Regions from separate parts of the Homo sapiens genome. Here regions 2 and 3 are each linked to region 1. The links are contacts of gene promoters, found by promoter capture Hi-C in blood cells and fetal thymus (Javierre and others, 2016). All regions are on one chromosome and are shown on one strand. The core of a region is centred on a gene start or on the middle of the fragment in contact, and the rest is flanking DNA. Distances in the headings are between cores, read along the strand shown.

Evidence for each region. The method cuts DNA at HindIII sites, captures the fragments that hold promoters and counts their contacts. A CHiCAGO score of 5 or more calls a contact.
Region 2: a contact is called between a fragment that was not itself captured here and the fragment with the promoter of NPPB in region 1, in 1 of 17 cell types (neutrophils). The highest score is 5.1, in neutrophils.
Region 3: a contact is called between a fragment that was not itself captured here and the fragment with the promoter of NPPB in region 1, in 2 of 17 cell types (erythroblasts and megakaryocytes). The highest score is 6.3, in erythroblasts.

Annotation. Positions count from the first base shown.
Region 1 is chr1:11,856,817-11,861,355 of GRCh38, forward strand. NPPB (natriuretic peptide B) reads right to left here and starts at 2,129. Exons shown (of 3, transcript NM_002521.3): 1 at 1,886-2,129; 2 at 1,398-1,653; 3 at 648-855. The coding sequence starts at 2,017. The coding sequence ends at 839. RefSeq lists a silencer at 2,528-2,694. The HindIII fragment of the contact is 3,284 bases long and covers 651-3,934 here.
Region 2 is chr1:12,095,345-12,099,883 of GRCh38, forward strand. TNFRSF8 (TNF receptor superfamily member 8) reads left to right here. Exons shown (of 15, transcript NM_001243.5): 3 at 1,757-1,873. Among named protein-coding and RNA genes, the nearest start is that of TNFRSF8, 34 kb to the left of the region's middle. The HindIII fragment of the contact is 1,350 bases long and covers 1,206-2,555 here.
Region 3 is chr1:12,032,990-12,037,528 of GRCh38, forward strand. It overlaps the pseudogene RN7SL649P. Among named protein-coding and RNA genes, the nearest start is that of MIR6729, 6.1 kb to the left of the region's middle. The HindIII fragment of the contact is 5,792 bases long and covers 1-4,539 here.

The DNA.
Region 1 (4,539 bases), core at 879-3,378:
GGAGGCCTGGATTGCAGGGTGTGTGGGAAGGGGACCCATAGGAGAGACAGCCTCCCCACTGGTTAAGGCAAAGAGAAGAGATGATGCAGCCCCAGGGGAGGGGCACCCTGGAAAGCTGGGCTGATTGCCAGACCCCTCTCACTTTGTGGGTTGGAGTTTTGAAGGCTCCTTTGCAGGATGACCCCAGGAATTGGAGTTTCAAAGCTGATATTTGGGGCAGGATGGAGGGCTCACCCCGGTATGGGAATGTAGATGAGCCACACCCACACACACTGCCCCCAGTCGTTGACATTTTAGCTGAGACCTGAAAGCAATAATCCCCAGGGAGAGTGCTTTAATGGTGGAATTCCAGGCAGAGCAAGGACGAGTGGAGAAAACGGCTGGATACGTGCCCTCAGGTTGCACACGTATCCTGCCCTGCTTTGAAAAGCAGTTTCTCCCAAGTGCCTCAAGTGCTTGAGATATTCAATAACATTTCAGAGCATTAAAAACTCTGAAAGAAAAGAAAGCCTGCTACCTCTGAGGCCACATCCTCATCCCACCATGAAGATGCCTTGAGATCACAGGGCTTTGTGGTTTTAGTTGGGTTGGTTTCTTTGAAATGAGGGATTATTTTTAATGCGCCAAGACAAATCAGTTTCAAAAGATAAAGCTTATAATGTTGACTTTATTTCACCGTGGAAATTTTGTGCTCAAAGGTAAGAAACCATCTTATATAAAACAATCAAATAAATACATAAATACATTAAAAAAATGAGTCACTTCAAAGGCGGCCACAGGGTTGAGGAAAAAGCCCCTTGTGGAATCAGAAGCAGGTGTCTGCAGCCAGGACTTCCTCTTAATGCCGCCTCAGCACTGTCAGGGAAAGAGAGAGGGTGATGATGGTTAGGGTGGGAGATGGAGGCAGGGGCTGAGCTTACCTCATCGTGTGCCACCCACCACCCTGTTAGTCATCAGACGTTTGAGGCTTAATGCAACTCTCTGAGCCTCAGTTTCCTCATCTGTAAATTGGGGATTATCATTGCTCTGGTGATCCTGCTCTCTGCCTTTGAGACTATAGACAGTTTAGAGGAAACCAGGAGGAAATGTTTGGTTCTCTTTCTGCACCACTGGGGGGCTGCCAAATGATAAACAGACCCCCAAAGGAGATTCTGCCCCTTTGATAAGAAGTAGGAGGTGGGGAGAAGGTATTGTGGGCATGGTAATGAAATAAGCCCACATTTACTAATTCCACAAAGGCACCCCTTGGCCCTGAAGGCTGTTAACAAGAGGAAGCGATGTCCAGGTGACCTTTTCTCAAAGAGTGTGGTTCCCAGAGACAACAAACCCCAAAGTGACTCTAACAGTGTCACACACTGGAATGGGGGAAGGCGGCCGGGGTGGCAGGGGGTGCTTACCTTTGCAGCCCAGGCCACTGGAGGAGCTGATCCGGTCCATCTTCCTCCCAAAGCAGCCAGACCCTTGCACCATCTTGGGGCTTCGTGGTGCCCGCAGGGTGTAGAGGACCATTTTGCGGTGCCCACGGATGCCCTCGGTGGCTACCTCCCGGGACTTCCAGACACCTGTGGGACGGGGGCTCTCCTGGAGGGGCTCCAGGGATGTCTGCTCCACCTGCAGCTCCGACAGTTTGCCCTGCAAATGGTTGCGCTGCTCCTGCAATGAATGGGGGCGTCCAAGCCTCAGGGACCCACCCCTGGGCTCACCAGCCCTTCATGGCACCCAAGTGAACCGACTGCCTTGGGTACAGGGTCAGGGCACCCAGTCTCTCCATTTTCTGATTCCTTTATCACTAATTCCAAAGGAAAGATGAGGGCCTCTTGGGACAGCAGGTGAGGACCCTTTCATTGCTGCTGTCCAATCCCCCTGAGCTGCCCTCCGCTCTCACCTGTAACCCGGACGTTTCCAAGTCCGAGGCTGAACCGGGGCTGCCCAGCGGGTGGGAACGACCTCCCAGGAAAGCCAGATGCAAGAAGAGCAGGAGCAGGAGCGCCCGGGAAGGTGCTGTCTGGGGATCCATGTCTCTGGAGGGACTGCGGAGGCTGCTGCTGCTGCTTCTGCTGCTGCTGCTGCTGCTGCGATGCGTCCGGGTTTGCTTCCCACCTGCCCTCAGCCTGCGGGGTGCTCCTCCTGGCTCCTCGGGACACCGTGGCCTTTTATCCTGGAGCTGAGTGTCGGGCCTGCCCTGCCATGCAGGGTTATCTCTGATTTATCAGCCACATTCCGGGCCTCTGAGATCAGGGCCCGGGAATGAGCCCCTCCGCGCCTGCGACGTGGGAGGTGGAGACCGGGCAGAGCCGACCTTGTATAGAAATGGGCCGGGTCGGGCCGGGGGGCAGGAACGCGCTGGAGACACAGACAAGTCCCCGTCTCCCGCTTCTTCCTTTCCTGCAAATGTCCAGGTGTCCTAGGTTGGCGCTTTCTTCCTGCCTCCCCACCCCACCGTTGCTGGAAAAGGCAGGGAGGACCCCGGCTTTCCGAGGACCGACGTGAGCGCGGGGAGCACGGGGTGACTCACAGCGAAAACAGCCCCGGCCAAGACCCCGCCACCCGCGGCGCCTCTCCCCTCCCCGCGCGAGTTCCCTGGCCCGCACGTAGCGCAGCACCTGCTCGCCGCTGTGCACCCTGCCTGCCTGCGGGTCCTCGGGGGCGCCCTGGCCGCTGTCCGTGGTGCTGATCACCCCGAGGGAACTTGGAGCAAACTCTCAAGAGCTGCTCTCTTCAACGGGATTTTCAGGCCAGAAAGACCTGCGTGGAGCAAGGACAAGAGACCTCCGAGACCTTTCCCTATGCTCTCACAATCCGCCATCTTATAGTCCTTACAGCAACGGGATGCTGATTCCCCAGTGGCAATTCATTAAAAGCCTGGGTATGACCAGGAACTTCTGGAATGCTGACCCTTCTTTCACTCCTTAAAGGGAAGAGCAGATTTCGCTGGAATTTTGAGAGATAGGGTCCAGTGATGACGAAGTCACCCAAGAATGCCTTATATGTGTGTCCTCCACGTGTCAACACCTCCTCTCCCCCACCAAGCCAACACAGGATGGAAAACAAAAGGATAGGCTGGGCATGGTGGTTCACGCCTGTAATCCCAGCACTTTGAGAGGCCGAGGCGGTCGGATCACGAGGTCAGGAGATCGAGACCACGGTGAAACCCCGTCTCTACTAAAATTACCAAAAATTAGCTGGGCATGGTGGCAGGCGCCTGTAGTCCCAGCTACTCGGGAGGCTGAGGAAGGAGAATCACTTGAACCCAGGAGGTGGAGGTTGCAGTGAGCTGAGATCACGCCACTGCACTCCAGCCTGGTTGACAGAGAGCGAAAAAAGAAAGAAAGAAAGAAGGAAAGAAAGAAAGAAAGAAAGAAAGAAAACAAAAGGATGGCTGGAATGATGGTTATCTATTTGCTGGGATACCAGAGATATGGGGATTTCCCCTCTCCCAGTGCCTCCTTCATCTGACCACCCATGATCTAATTATCATTAGCAGGTGGCCTGGTGATTAGAAGTGAGACTTTGGAGAGAAATGCCCCTGAGAAGAGTCATAGCAGCTTAAATACCCCCCTAAAGCATATATGACTGATGTCACTCCCCTTCCAGAGAATTGGTGTCAACAAGCAGCAGGCTGGAGGAGTGGAGCTGTCTATGAGGGGAGAAGAGTTACAGCAGAGAAGGGCAGCAATAAGAAACTGGGACCTCTAAGCAGATCTTGCCTAAAAAATAGCATCTGCCCCTGAGGTGAGAAAAGCACGGTTATTATTCCTCACTTCAGAGGAGGAAATGGTGTTCATGAATTAATCTACTTTCCAAAAGTCACACAATTGACACATGATAAATCCTGGATTCTAACCAGTCTGATTAGTCTAGCCAGCAGTCTGATTCCAGACCTGAAGCTCATAATCACTGCCAGGGTGATCACAAGGTGTTTCTACAAAAAGCAAGCTTAGGTGAATCCCGTGTCATCTATGAAGGCTCTGGGAGCTGTGCTGTGGGGGATGTGCAATTCTAGTGGTGACTGTGTGTGCAGGAGAAAGAATGGGAAGTGGCTCAGATGAGCATTTTGCAGATGAAATATAAATGGAGGTGGGTGGGTAAGGGCTGTGTAAAGACACCAGTGCTGGAAATGTTCTGGGGGGCTGGGGTAGTTTTGTGTGTGTGTGTGTGTGTGTGTGTGTGTGTGTGCGTGCACATGAGCATGCCACAGTAAGAGTATCAAAAGGCTAAGAGGAAGCTAAAGAGGTAAGAAAATTCAGCCAAGTGCAGAGGGGAGTCAGTGGGCGAGAGGCTGCTGAGGGTGCAGAAAGCCCCTCATGCTGAGTACCATGAGATAAAGGGTTCAGAGCAAGGCAGGATTCATCAACCAGCACCATCAAAAACTGACTCTGCATCTCGCCAGAGCCTCACTTTGCTCTTCGGCAAAATGGACAGTCCTTGCAAGGACTAAAAGGAAAAAAATAATATCTGCAAAAGCCCGTGGCACTGTATAAAGGGCCAAATAATTAGTAGTACATGAGAGTTGGTCTTTACACTGAAGGAGATTGTGAT
Region 2 (4,539 bases), core at 631-3,130, 240 kb after region 1:
TGGCACGATCTCGGCTCACTGCAACCTCCGCCTCCCGGGTTCAAGTGATTCTCCTGCCTCAGCCTCCCCAGTAGCTGGGATTACAGGCGCCTGCCACGACACCCAGCTAATTTTTGTATTTTTAGTAGAGACGGTGTTTCACCACGTTGGCCAGGCTGGTCTTGAACCCCTGACCTTATGTGATTCACCCACCTCGGCCTCCCAAAGTGTTGGGGTTACAGGCGTGAGCCACCGCACCCGGCCTGTTACTATATGTTATTTTGTTTAATGCTTTGATAACCATATTCCAAGGTAGTTGGATTCCTCTGCATTCCTGCATATTTTATTCATGAATTCATGATTCTGTGCAGTGTCCACAGGCTTCCTTAGAATGATTAGGGGCACAAGAAATATTGGGAACCCCCTGGTCTATTTTCATTGTAACTGGCAGAAGGGCTCAAATAAGACAAAAGAGAAATAATTGGCTCCCTAACAGAGAAGTCCATGGACACCCTACATTCAGATGTTTGAACGATGTCCTCAGGAGCCCATTTCTCTCCAACTCTGGCTTCTGCTGGCTTCTGAGTCACCTCCTTCTTAGGCAAGTCCTGCCCACACCATGCCCACGCTCAGGCTGTGATGACCTGGGCAGCTCTGGGCTTAACTAGCCCTTTCAGCCAGGAATCCAGTAGATAAACGGAGGACATCTTTCTGGATTGCTTTTGTGAAACTCTCAGAGATGAGGCTTATTGGCTGGCATGCCTGGGTCATGTGCCCATACTAAACTAATCACAGTGGTGAGGAACATGGAGTACTCTGATTGGCCTGCTTGGGTCATGTGGCAATCCTGAGCCAATTATATTGATGGGAAGAAGTATTCTGATTGGCCTGCTTGGGTCATGTGCTCATCCTGGAAGCAAGGTAGGCAGCGATTGCTGGGTGACTTGTTTATCTCGAAATCAGGCTGGATTAGGGTCTTAGTGGCAGGAGTGTCCAATCTTTCGGCTTCCCTGGGCCACATTGGAAGAAGAAGTGTTAGTGTGGAAGAAGTGAATTTAGTCTAACACTAAGGATAGTGTTTTAGCTTATAGCTGATGAGCTAAAAAAAAAAAAAAAAAAAATCACACACACGCAAATCTCATAATGTTTTAAGAAAGTTTATGAGTTTGCGTTGGGCCTCATTCAGAGCTGTCCTGGGCCGAATGCGGCTAGTCGTGGGTTGGACAAGCTTGGTCTAGACTTTCATGGTCTAAAGTTATGGCTCTCCTAATTCCTGCAGTGAGATAAGACCCCTGCAGAGAATGATGACAACCGGTGCTCATATAGTGCTTGTTGGGTGCCAGGGACTGCTGTAGTACTTTATACATATTTATCTTCACAGTCCATTCAGTCCTTTCAAGAACACTAGGAGGTGGGTCCTATTACTAACTTAATAGTGCTAAATATATACACGTACTATGTACCCTCACACACACACACACACAAATAGTGCTGACAAGGTCATTATCACGCAATTGGCAAATGGCAGCCCTAGAATCCCAGGCCCAGCTCTTCTCTATAACTATGTTGCTTTTCCTTGCCTGCTAGGGGACCTTAGGCGAGGGTTGCCCCTCCTGGGTGTCAGTGCTTCCATCCATAACACAAGAATTGGACTGACAGTTTTCGGGGGTTGGAGGTGGAGCTGGGAGGGGCGTCAGGGATGAGAGGTGTGGGGCATTGGGTCATAAGGCCTTTGCTAAGTCAGCCTGGCTTGGAGCTTCTCTGTTTCTTTTCCCAGGGCTGTTCCCGACACAGCAGTGCCCACAGAGGCCTACTGACTGCAGGAAGCAGTGTGAGCCTGACTACTACCTGGATGAGGCCGACCGCTGTACAGCCTGCGTGACTTGTTCTCGAGGTAAGGGCCTTGTTCTCTCTCCAGGGCCTCCTTCTAGGGAGCATGAGGGGTCCTCAGAGGAGAGGTGAAGAATCTGGAAGGTGGAGAGCATCATGATTTGATGTCTGTTCTCTGAATTGTCCTCCTGGTGCCTCAGTTTACCTCTCTGCATTTGTGATTTGATATCAGCCATGACCTTTTGCATCCATACTTTCACAGAGACTTAACATGTTTCCTGAAGGAGAGGACTCACATTTTTTTGAGTTTAATCCTCACCACAGCCCTAGGGGAGGATTTCTTGCTTATCCTTACTTTACAATGAGGAATTTGAGGATAGGGAGGTTAAGGGCCTTTCCAAAGTTACAAAACTCTGGTAAGTGGCAGAACTGGAGTTTGAGTTGTGGCCTGACACCAAGAGCTGTGTTCTTTTCCTAAGATCACAGGACTTCCAGGAAAACTGTTTCAGTATGACCTTTTATTGTTAGTCTCTTATTATGGTTAGAGAATGCAGTCTGTGTGCTATCTAGTGTTTATTTTTGTGTGGATTTTTTTGGGGGGTAGGGTGGGGGAAATTTGTTGAGATCTTTTTGTGGTCTAATAAATAATAAATGATCATGTATTTTCAGAGTGTTCAGTGTATGGGTGTTTTAAAATGTGTATTCTGTTTGTTGCGTATAAAGTTCTCTACATATCTATTAAGTTAAGCTTGTTAATTGTGTTATTTAAATAATGTGTACCCTTATTTACTTTTATCACCTTTATTTCTGAGAGATGTGTTAAAATCTTATCTCCCAGTATACTTGTTCATCTATTAGATTTTCATTGTGTTCTTTCTATTTTTGCTTCATATATGTCAAAGCTATGTTATTAGGTACATAAATGTTCATGAATGTTATGTTTTTTTGGTGGGTTGGGCTTTTTATCCACATGAATATACCTCTCCATTCCTTGTAATGCCTTTTCCCTTAATTTCACATTTGTTTGGCATTAATATTGCTATTCCTTCCTGGAAGAAGTAGCAAAGGTTAAAAAGAAAGAAAAGTAATAATAATATTGCCATTTCTTCTTTCTTTTTATTAGCATTTATCTGGTGTATCTTTGAATTTCTAAAAGTAATGACTGCATTTTATGAAATGAAAATTATAAACATTTATTATTTAAAATTCAAGCAATACAAAGAGTGTAAGGAAGAAAACAAACATTGCCCTCCCCAGCCCTCCATCTATAGATAACTACTATTATCATTAGATGGCTGACACGCCTCTACCTCTCTGTATAAAGATGGGTAGGTTAGTAACCAGACAGCCTGTACACACTTACAAAGAAGGAATTTTAAGAGAATGGCAACATATTTATGGCATTAAAATGATAATATTTAATTTTAGTCAAAAGTATCAGAAAAAGAAAGCGAAGTGAAACAGAAGAATGCCAAACCTCAGTCAGATTAATGTATCTTCAGCAAAAGATACTGCAATTCCTTTAAAAAAAAAAACCCTCTAAAATTAAGAAAGGAGGTTATGAAAATCAGTAAGTGGTTAATAATCATTTCAGAATCTACTATCTCTTGCAGTAAAGGCAAAATCTGCTTAGTTTGAGTTTTGGACAGTAGAGAATAGATTGACTCCCTGTAATGAAGAACAAAGTAATTATTTTTCCCACCTCCTCATCCTCTTCCTGACTTTTATTCCTTACACAAATTTTACTTTGTCATAATCTATAATGTTTATATTCTCATCTGCAACCATAAGTCCCTTGGCATGTTAGCCTTAACATTTTTTATTATTCATGATGAGTTTATTTGGCACAGCTTCTCTGTTCCTGAGTTTTTCACTTTGATTCATCATTTGAGTGATTGGATTACACTGTCAGGTGGATTTTTCAAGAAGGGCTCGTCTTTGCAATATTCTCTGTTATTTCATGTTTGAGGATGCTTGTCTGTTGCCTATATTTTTGTTTTCTTTTTTTTCTTTTTGAGACAGAGTCTGACTCTGTCGCCCAGGCTGGAGTGCAGTGGTGCAATCTCGGCTCACTACAACCTCTACCTCCTGGATTCGAGCGATTCTCCTGCCTCCTGAGTAGCTGAGATTACAGGGATGCACCACCACGCCTGGCTAATTTTTGTATTTTTAGAAGAGATGGGGTTTCATCATGTTGCCCAGGCTGGTCTCAAACTCCTGACCTCAAGTGATCCAGCCGCCTTGGCCTCCTAAAGTGTTGGGATTACAGGTGTGAGTCACCATTCCCGGCCCAATTTCTTATCTTTAAATTTTAAGACAGGGTCTCACTTTGTTGTCCAGGCTGGCCTTAAACTCCAGGGCTTAAGTGTTCCTCCTGCCTCAGCCTCCCGAGTAGCTGGGGCTGCACTTGCATGTTACTGCACCCAACTTACAATTTTTTTGTGTGTCTCTGAGGATATAAATTATAGTCATGTATTGCTTATTGACAGGAATACATTCTGACAAACGTGTCATTAGGCAATTTTGTCGTTGTGCAAGCATCCTAGATTAGTGTACTTACACACACCTACATGATGTAGCCTACTGCACACCTAGGTTCTATGGCAGATCCTTTTGCTCCTAAGCTACAACTCTGCACAGCATGTGACTGTCCTGAATACTGTAGGCAGCTGTGACACAATGTGAGTATTTGTGTATCTAAACATAGAAAAGGTGCAATAAAAATACGAC
Region 3 (4,539 bases), core at 602-3,101, 180 kb after region 1:
TTTTTGTACTTTTTGTGGAGAAGGGGTTTCACTATGTTACTGAGGCTGGTCTTGAACTCCTGAGATCAAGGGATCTGCCACCTTAGCCTCCCAAAGTGCTGGGATTACAGGCGTGAGCTACCACCTCCGGCCAATAATTCTATTTTTAATTTTTCAAGGAAATGCTATACTGTTTTACTTTCCGACCAGTGATGCACAAGAGTTCCAATTTTTCCTCATCGTCAACAGCACTTGCTATTTTCTGGTTTTTCGGTAGTAGCCATCCTAATGGCTGTGAAGTGTATCTCATTGTGGTTTTTATTAGCATTTCCCTAAGGATTAGTGACGTTGAGCATGTTTTAATATGCTTATTGGTCATTTGTATATTTTAAAAATATTTATTAATAGTTTTTTTTTAACTTAAGTTCAGGAGTACATGTTTATTAGTTTATTTTTAATAGAGACAGGGTCTTGCTATGTTGTCCAGGCCTCAGGCTTTTCCTACCTGGGCCTCCCAAAATGCTGGGATTATAGGCACAAGCCACTGCACCCAGCCTGTTTGTATATCTTCTTTGGAGAAGTCAAGTCCTTTGTCCCATATTTCAGTTGGGCTTGGTTTGTTGTTCCACGTGTAATTTTGAGTCGGAGAACCTGTGGGAGTCAGTGGTTTCTTTAGAAATTCTTTGGCCACAGGGAGAAGATAATTCAAAGCCTTTCTGTCAAACAAAAGTTACAAAATCAGGCTGGGCTTGGTGGCTCACTCCTGTAATCCCAGCACTTTGGGAGGCCGAGGCAGGAGGATCACTTGAGGTCAGGAGTTTGTGACCAGCCTGGCCAACATGGCGAAACCCCGTCTCTACTAAAAATACAAAAATTAGCTGGGGATGGTGATGCACACCTGTAATCCCAGCTACTCGGGAGTCTGAGGCGGAAGAATGGCTTGAACCTGGGAGGCAGAGGTTGCAGTGAGCCGGATCATGCCACTGCACTCCAACCTGGGCGACAGTGATACTCTGTCTCGAAAAAGAAAAAAAAGTTACAAAATTTAGGCCAGGTGCCGTGACTGACCCATATAATCCCAGTACTTTGGGAGGCCAAGGCAGGCTGATCACTTGAGGTCAGGAGTTTGAGACCAGCCTGGCCAATATGGCAAAACCCCATCTCTAGTAAAAAATTTAAAAACTAGCCAGACATGGTGGCACATGCCTGTAATCCCAGCTACTTGGGAGGCAGAGGCATGAGAATCACTTGAACCCAGGAGGCGGAAGTTGCAGTGAGCCGAGATGGTGCCATTGCACTCCAGCTTGGGGTACAGAGCAAGACTCTGTCTCAAAAAAAAAAAAATTACAAAATTTACAAAGCTGAGATCAGCTTACAGATTTAGCCGTGTATAACAGAAGTCCAAAACAGCAACAGCCTAACCCAGAGAGAAATGCTTCTTTTCCATCACCGTACAGGCTGGAATGCTGCCACAGGGCCCATAATGCATCAGGGTGCATGGTTTCTCTGGAAAAACAGTTCTTTTGAAACTTTGGAAGACTTCCAGCTTGCTTGCTTCCAGTAAGTTCCATGCACAAGAACCACAGCCCAAAGTCTGTAGACACTGCGCTGAATGAAACCTGTGGCGCCATAGCCTGAAAGACCCTCTTTGTGTGGCGGCAAATAACTCCTGTCTTCCCACGTACTGACCTCTGCTCTGCCTGTTCCTGGCTATCTCTTCAGAAGGCAGCCTCCTTGGGGCCATCTGGAGCCATCAGCGGGGGTAGGAAGACCACAGCCTGAACCAGATCCTTCCTGCTGGTCGCTTGAGAACTCTTTTTCTTTTTAATTTTTGAGACAGGGTCTGTCGCTTAGGCTAGAGTACAGTGGTGCAATCTCGGCTCACTGCAACGTCCTTGCAAATTCAAGTGATTCTCATGCCTCAGCCTCCCGCGTAGCTGGGATTACAGGCGCCTGCCACCATGCCCGGCTAATTTTTGTATTTTTAATAGAGAAGGGGTTTCTCCATGTTGGCCAGGCTGGTCTCAAACTCCTGGCCTCAAGTAATCCACCTGCCTTGACTTCCCAAAGTGCTGGGATTACAGGCATGAGCCACTGCCCCTGGCCTCCGGAGAACGGCAGGGAGGTGCTTGAGAAAGCCCTGGGCCTGGGGCTGCCTCTCCAGTCACTTCTTAGGACTGATTTCAGCATGGGATACAGGCTTATTCAAGCTGAAGGGGCCCCAAGAATGAAGGTTCCAGGCAGGAGGCCCCTAGAGCAGAGCCCATGTCTTGCAGCTCTCCAGCACCCACACAGTTCCATTTCGTGAATGTCCCCACTACCCTCCCAGGTACTTGCAAGCTGTTCTTAATTCTCCTGGGCCTTTCACCCCTACAACTTGGGGTCACCCTGGATGCTCGTCTTGTCTCCCACCCTTGCCCCATCCATGTCTCAGCTTGGATGTCTCTTCTTTCAAGAGGTCCTCCCTGAACCTCTGGGTTCTCAGATCTGCCCCCGCCATCACACAGCCTGCCTTCCTGCTCTTCTCCAAGGCCCCTGAGTAGTAGTATTAAGTAACTAACGGTGAGATGCATTGCCTAAGCTCTCTCCCCTGCGAGAATTGCAGCTTCCTGAAAACAGAGATGGCATTGTTTTTCTTCATTGAAATAGTTTTGTATTGTACTTTTTCAAAAGTACTGGCTGAACTGTGTTCCAGAATTTGGCTTTTCCCTCTAGCCTGGTTTCTTACCTGCCTTGTGAAGGTTACTGGACAAATGCTTTCATTTCTCTGCATGAAAGGACCCTGGTGGTTGGGCACACTCCTGATACACCTTACATGCACCCCCTCTCCCATACTGATAGCATTCTTTTCTTTTTTTGTGCCTTCTGAGTATGTACTGTAAATCCCAAAGGAAAAAGGCAAGATCACCTACTTCTCCCAAAACTAGTGTCTTGTGTTGGTCATTTAGAAATAAGAACAAAGATCTGACTCCTCCATTGCCTGCACCACGGCTTAGAACCATGACCCTGGCCAGGCAGCGGCCTGAAGTTTGTCTTCTTGGACCTAACCATGCTGGAGACAGTCAGCTGAGGACGTGAGAAAAGGCAGAAGCTCAAATCCAGCCTGGGCAACATAGCAAGACCCCATCTCTCTTAAAAAAAAAAAAAAAAAAAAAAGGCCGGGCACAGTGGCTCATGCCTGTAATCCCAGCACTTTGGGAGGCCAAGGCGGGCGGATCATGAGGTCAGGAGATCGAGACCATCCTGGCTAATATGGTGAAACCCCGTCTCTAATAAAAAATACAAAAGAATTAGCCGGGCATGGTGGCGGGCACCTGTAGTCCCAGCTTCTCCGGAGGCTGTGGCAGGAGAATAGTGTGAACCCGGGAAGTGGAGCTTGCAGTGAGCCAAGATCGCGCCACTGCACTCCAGCCTGGGCGACAGAGCGAGACTCCGTCTCAGAAAAAGAAAAAAGAGGCTGGGCATGGTGGTTCACATCTGTAATCCCAGAACTTTGAGAGGCTGAGGCGGGTGGATCACTTGAGGTCAGGAGTTTGAGACCAGCCTGGCCAACATGGTGAAACCCTGTCTCTATGAAAAATACAAAAATTAGCTGGGCATATTGGCAAGCACCTATAATCCCAGCTACTCAGGAGGTTGAGCTATGAGAATCACTTGAACTTGGGAGGCGGAGGTTGCAGCAAGCTAAGATCGCGCTATTGCACTCCAGCCTGGGTGACAGAGTGAGACTCCGCCTCAAAAAATAAAAATAATTAAAATAAGAGCTTTTTTAGAGGCAGGTTCTTGCCCTTGCCCAGGCTGGAGCACAGTGGCTATTTACCCCACTGCTGATCAGCACTGGAGTTTTGACCTGCTCTATTTCCAACCTGAGCTGGTTTAACCCTCCTTAGGCAACCTGGTTTCAAGGAGGTCACCATATTGATGCTCAAGTTAGTGCAGACACCCCATCAGCATAGGGCACCAAAGCCCCGAACTGGGCACAAGTGATCCTCCCGCCTCAGCCTCCTGAATAGGTGAGACAACTGGCGAGCACCACCACACCTAACAAGGCAGGGAGATGGATTCCTCAATAGAAAGGTGTGGAGCTGGCCGGGTGCGCTGGCTCCCACCTGTAATTCCAGCACTTTGGGAGGCTGAGGTGGGCGGATCACGAGGTCATGAGATCGAGACCATCCTGGCCAACATGGTGAAACCTCGTCTCTACTAAAAATACAAAAATTAGCTGGGTGTGGTGGCGTGTGCCTGTAGTCCCAGCCATTCGGGAGGCTGAGGCAGGAGAATCGCTTGAACCTGGGGGGTGGAGCTTGCAGGGAGCCGAGATCGCACCACTGCACTCCAGCCTGGGCGACAGAGTGAGACTCTGTCTCAGAAAAAAAAAAAAGAAAAAAAAAATGTGTAGAGCTGATGAATGCTCTCCAACTGGAACCCAACTCCTTGATATGGTCTGTAATGCCTCCACCATTCCCCCACTCACTCATTCATTCACCAGCCACGTGTTCGACTCCTCCTGTGTGCTAGGCACTGTTCTAGGCTCTGCAGATGCGGCAGTGAAGCAGACAA